Regions from separate parts of the Homo sapiens genome. Here region 2 is linked to region 1. The links are contacts of gene promoters, found by promoter capture Hi-C in blood cells and fetal thymus (Javierre and others, 2016). All regions are on one chromosome and are shown on one strand. Each heading gives the region's core, a stretch centred on a gene start or on the middle of the fragment in contact. The rest is flanking DNA. Distances are from core to core; before and after follow the strand shown.

What was found. Contacts are between HindIII fragments. The CHiCAGO score rates a contact against its expected background, and 5 or more counts as called.
Region 2: a contact is called between a fragment that was not itself captured here and the fragment with the promoter of MMRN2 in region 1, in 2 of 17 cell types (naive CD8 T cells and naive CD4 T cells). The highest score is 5.2, in naive CD8 T cells.

What each region holds. Positions count from the first base shown.
Region 1 is chr10:86,956,155-86,959,016 of GRCh38, reverse strand. MMRN2 (multimerin 2) reads left to right here and starts at 1,402. Exons shown (of 7, transcript NM_024756.3): 1 at 1,402-1,639. The coding sequence starts at 1,476. SNCG (synuclein gamma) reads right to left here and starts at 418. Exons shown (of 5, transcript NM_003087.3): 1 at 199-418. The coding sequence starts at 319. RefSeq lists an enhancer at 1-128. The HindIII fragment of the contact is 12,184 bases long and covers 1-2,862 here.
Region 2 is chr10:86,524,123-86,527,101 of GRCh38, reverse strand. WAPL-DT (WAPL divergent transcript) reads right to left here. Exons shown (of 2, transcript NR_186498.1): 2 at 2,001-2,979. Among named protein-coding and RNA genes, the nearest start is that of WAPL-DT, 3.7 kb to the right of the region's middle. The HindIII fragment of the contact is 2,960 bases long and covers 1-2,868 here.

The sequences.
Region 1 (2,862 bases), core at 153-2,652:
AGGAGGCCAAAGACAAACACACATAGGTGTGCACAGGGCATTGTGGGTGCTCCAGGGTCTGGAGACCCCACCTTGATAGCCAGGGCCTCGCCCCCTCCCAAAATGCCTCCCTGGGGCTGGGGAGTAAGGTCTGGCGAAGGTAACTGGGCACTCACCCTTTGGCCACCACACTGTCCCACCCTGCCATGCCCCACTTACCCACATACATGACCCCCTCCTTGGTCTTCTCAGCTGCTTCCGTCACCCCCTGCTTGGTCTTTTCCACCGCACCCACCACGCCCTCCTTGGCGATGGAGAAGCCCTTCTTGAAGACATCCATGGTGGGTGTGCAGGGTTGTGCTGCTGCAGGCAGGACGGAGCTGGATCTCCCTGCGAGCTGCGGGCTTGAGCTGGCTCGAGTGCTGCCGCAGCGGCTGTCCCCGATGCCTCCTATTGACGCCGATGAAATATTGATGCGGAGGCCAGCTGGAGCCCAGCCAGCCCTGCGTGCAGTGGGGGCGGGGAGGGAGGGAGGGAGGGAAGGAGGTTCAGCCTCACCTTCCTCCAGGATAGGAAGGCAGAGACCAGGCTCCCTGGGCTCCTGCTGGCTCAGCCCAGCTCTCCTGCCCCGTGCCCTCCATGGGCTGGAGGGGGCTGGCCACCTCCCAACCTGTCCCTCATTCATTTACTGCCCTGCCCACCCATGGGGGCAGCCCTGGCTGGGTGCTCTTGGCCCCAGGGGTGCTGTGTCTATGCTGCACCTGGACAGACAGGCACAGAGAGGGGAGGCGCCTTGGCCATTGTCCCCAGCTTCCTAGGTAGGGGTCAGGGCCACATAGGCCTGTTAGGTGAGAGCAGCCAACCTCCCGCGGCCTGGGCTGTGCAGCTACCCACCAGCATCCTGGATGCCGCTGGACCCTGGGCTGCCATGAAACCGGTTGGAGGATCTGAGGTGGGTGGGGGTGGGGAAATGAAGGACTTCCTCATGCCTTGGCCTCTGGCTGCATGCTGTGTGACCCCAGAATAGTCCCTTCCCTTCTTTGAGCCGCCCAGTGCTGAAGGTGCTGAGGAGGCATGAATTGCCCCCCATTTCCTGGCCAGCAGTGTGGATGGGCAGCAGGTCCCCTGAGATGGACCTGACCACTTCCTGTGGCCCCACCTCGAAGTCCACGCTCTTTTCATGGCTCCCAGGGAGCAGGTTCCCATAAGGATGCATTTGGTGGGGCCACCCCATGTCTACCACATTCCCAGAGTCCCTGAGCCAAGTCCTCAGGGACAGGAACTGGCTTGTGTGGTTGGCGGCCCCTGTGGGGCCAGCCAGGGTAGTTGGGGGGCAGGACAAGACCCACCGGGTAGGCCGGCCCAGGCCACTTCCTCTCTTTGTTGTCCTCGTATTTTCTTTTCCTCCTGAGATTTAACTTGAAGACAACGTCACTAGCAGTTTCTGGAGCTACTTGCCAAGGCTGAGTGTGAGCTGAGCCTGCCCCACCACCAAGATGATCCTGAGCTTGCTGTTCAGCCTTGGGGGCCCCCTGGGCTGGGGGCTGCTGGGGGCATGGGCCCAGGCTTCCAGTACTAGCCTCTCTGATCTGCAGAGCTCCAGGACACCTGGGGTCTGGAAGGCAGAGGCTGAGGACACCGGCAAGGACCCCGTAGGACGGTAAGAGGGCCTGGACCTTGGCAGAGGTCATGGAGTAGGATCTGAGTCCCAGCTCAGCTAGAGCAGAGCCTCTCTAGACCTCACTGGGGTCCCATCTGTGAAATGGGCTAATAGTATCTATCTCTGGGCCATCTGTGAGGCTGAAAAAGTAGTCTGGACTGGGTGTTTCAGGATCCACCTAAGAATTGCAGGGAGTTCCCTGTCGGAGCCATGGCAGGGAATGGGGCTTGGGGGGCTGGCAGGGAGGCACAGCTCCTACCATCAATCACCCAGCATGGGGCACTGGGGGACTGTGGCTGAAGCCATTGCCAGCTGGCCTGGCTATGCCTCCTGTTCTTCCAAAGAAATCAATTCTGAAAGCTGAGACCCAGCAAGGCTGCCCTGAGATTTTGATCTGAGTTCCCTGGGGACCTGACTCTGACTGCCCAGCAGTGAGCAGAGACGGCCCCCTGCTCTCCAGAGCACAGTCCAGGGCGCTCTGCCTCAGCGACCCAGCAAGTGGGCAGGATGGTCTTGCAACTGGACCCAGAACATAGCTTTCCAACATTCTATGTGTACAGAGCCAGGGCCCATCCTGCTGATGAGGTGTTGGGCCTGTAAGTCCCCCCTCATCTCCAACTGCCCCTCAGTCAGAGCAGCAGGTGCTGTTTACGGGGCCCCCAGTCTCAGGGCCAGGCACCTTGCCACGTGTATCTCAGTTCATCCCTCCAACAGCCCCACTTACAGAGGAGGAGCCTGAGGCTCAGAGAGGCTGAGGGGCTTGCCCAAGGCCACACAGCTAAGGAGCAGGATCTGAGTTTGACTTCAGAGCTCATAGTGAACTCTCTGCAGCACTTGGAGCCAGCCCCAGCCCCCAGATGCTCCTACCTCCACCCTCCTGCCCCCACACACCAGACCTGTTTGGCTAAGGGCATCTACATGGATTTAGGGAGTGAGGGGGGGGCCAACTTACACTTCTGTGCGGTGTATGAGAGCCACCATCGCAGAGCGGACCTGCCTGGGATAGGTCTCATTTGGCTTCTGAGTTGCAGGTTTGTTGGGTGCTTTCCTGAAAACAGATTTGACCAGGGAGGGGCAAGAGGCCCCTTAGTGAGGGTCTGGTGGCAGTGGCGTGGGGAACAGTGGCTGAGCAGTTGGCCATGGAGAAACCTCATTCCCGCCTGCCCCCAACTCTGCTCAGGGCTGGGAGGTGCAGGTGATTCTCGGTGGTGGGGCGGCAAGGG
Region 2 (2,979 bases), core at 139-2,638, 430 kb after region 1:
CAAAAGTCAGCCATCCTCGTCCTCATGGAGTTTATATTCTTGTGAAACGAAATAGATAATAAACAAGTTCATACACAAAGCAAACGTAATGACTATGTTATGGAGAAAAGCAGCAGGGAAAAGGAGATACAGGGTGCTGGATGACCTTAAATAGCATGGCCAAGGAAAACATTACTGAGAGACACACTTGAGCAAAGACCTGAAAGCATGCAGGGAATGAGTTGTGTGTGTCTCTTGAGGACTAACAGAGGGAACAAGTACGAAGAGGGCCCACAGGCAGGAGCTGGCTTGGCATGTTCTAGTAGTAGACAGAGGCAGGCCCGGCAAGGTAGGAAGGGATAGGAGTACTCAGGGGCCAGATCATGCAGGGCCTTTTCACCGTTAAGAACTTTGGATTTTAGTATTACAGGAGGACCCTTCAGGGTGTTTGACTAGGCGGGTATCATACAGTATTAAGGGTGAGGATCCTGAATAAAAAAGGGCTGTTTCCAGGACAAGGGTCAGGAAGCCAGACTTCTTCGAGGTTGCTTGTACCGGTCCTTGTCAGGCAATGTGCTCCTAGAGAATTTCCTTTGCTTTGTGTTTCATCTACCTAGACAGCAGTGTATTCCCCAGAGGACGTCACTATCTCCAGAGAACATATTCCAATTATCCTGGGAAATATGATAATTGGGATTATAACAGTACTCATTTTCTCAATTCTCAGAATGAAAACCTATCCAAGGCAAGAACAAAAGTTCTCCAGAAAGCACTCCCCTCCCAATTGTGAAAACCCAGTTAACATTTTATTAGAGCTACCAGGTTATGTGAAACTGTTGATAGTTTTATCACTTTCCTTTCAAGATATAGGCAGGGGCAGTGGCTCATGCCTGTAATTCCAGCACTTTGGGAGGCCAAGGTAGGTGGATGGCTTGAGCCCAGAAGTTCAAGACCAGCCTGGGCAACAAGGTGAAACCCTATCTCTACCAAAAATACAAAAATTAGTGGGGCATGATAGCATGGACATGTAGTCCCAGCTACTTGGGAGGCTGAGGTGGGAGGATGGCTTGAACCCTGGAGGTGGAGGTTGCAGTGATTGGAGATCGTGCCACTACATTCCAGCCTGGGCGACAGAGCAAGACTCTGTCACCAAAAAAAAAAAAAAAAAAAAAAAAAAAAAATGTGGCCAGGCATGGTAGCTCACACCTGTAATCCCAGCACTTTGGGAGGCTGAGCCAGGCGGATCACAAGGTCAAGAGATCGAAACCATCCTGGCCAACATGCAAAACACCATCTCTACTAAAATACAAAAAATGAGCTGGGTGTGGTGGTGTGCGCCTGTAGTCCCAGCTACTGGGGAGGCTGAGGCAGGGGAATCGCTTGAACCAGGGAGGCAGAGATTGCAGTGAGCCGAGATCGCGCCACTGCACTCCAGCCTGGTGACAGAGCGAGACTCCGTCTAAAAAAAAAAAAAAAAAAATATATATATATATATATATAATATATGTATATAATTTTACATGAAAGAAGGAAATAAATGGGTGCTTTTATTCAACAAATATTTATTGAGCACCTACTCTTGTGCCAGGCAGTCTTCTAGGTGCTAGGGTTGCAGCAGAAAACAAGACAGGCAGAGATCCCTGCCTTCAGAGGGAGCACAACATTTAAGATAAACATGCAAAATGCCTGATATGTTAGATGGGAAGATAAATGCCCTTAAAGAAAGTAAAGCAGGGACAGTGACATTTAGGAGTGAGGATGTTGCAACAATTTAAGATAGGTTGGTCAGGGGAGATTCATTGAAAAGTCCCATCTGAGTGAAAACCTAGAGGAGAGAATTGAAGCAGGCTGGTATCTGGGGGAGTTGTAGGCAGAGGGAATAGGAAATACAAAGGCCCTAAGGTGGGGAAACAGCAAGGAGTCAGGTGTGGGCAGAGCAGAAAGTTGGGGCTGCATGAGCAAAGGGCAGGGCCTGGCCCACATCTCGTAGAGCTTTGTAATATAACCACAACATGCAAGTGTACAATTTAACATTTTATTCCACATCCGATGGCAAAGAAAAATTGACTGCTACCAATATGGTAGTTTCTGACCTGTAGTTCCCTAAATAGAATTCTATAAGTTGTAATACACTTTACTACACATTATCAGAAAAAGACTAAAAGTTCTATTTAGTAACTCCAATTCTGACAGTTCTCATGTCTGGGCTAGAACAAGGGCATGGCAATGGCAGAACAGATGTCTTCTATTTTCTTTGCAGGATTTTCTTTTTTCAGAGGAAAGTACAGGTATGGGCCCACTCAAGTGGAGCTCCAGGTTAGGGGGTTCTGTCCTCACCCAGGCAGCACACAGGAGGGCAGAGGCCCCTCCTAAGGGTACTACAAACTTGGCTCTGATCCATGATTTCAGTTTCTGACAAACACAACATTCAGTGGGGGAAAGAAAATCAGGTATCTGAGAGCTTGCACACAGGCATTCTAGCAAAACCAAAAGCACCTACTGGCTACTTGATGTTAGTGTGAAGATTCTCATGAAATGGAGACAACCATTCTAGGGGTTGAGGTGGCCAGGGGGATGGAGCCTGAGCTGAGAGAACTAAGAAAACAAAAACAATACAACAAAAAGCTGTTCAGCCATGTGTTACCCACACTGGAGTTCTGTTTGCTCATTCTGGTGTGGAACCCAGGGCCCTGGTAAGGGAATGAGGGGACTTCAGGGCATTTGCTTGCCTCAGTGGAAGCAGGGAGGTAAGGGGTTAAGGTGGTGGTACAGCCTGCAGGGCCAGGAGTCTGAACTCCCTCCAGGAGGGGCCCGAGGGGTGTCTTTAGTGTGAGCCACACAAGGGTACAGAGCCCAGAAGAGCTCTGCTTAATATTCATATACTAAGCTTCCACAGACTAAATACACACACACACACACACACACACACACACTCACACACACTTTACTTCTCAAATCATGTACCACTTTCTACCAGATTCAAGAACACCAAGAAGTACT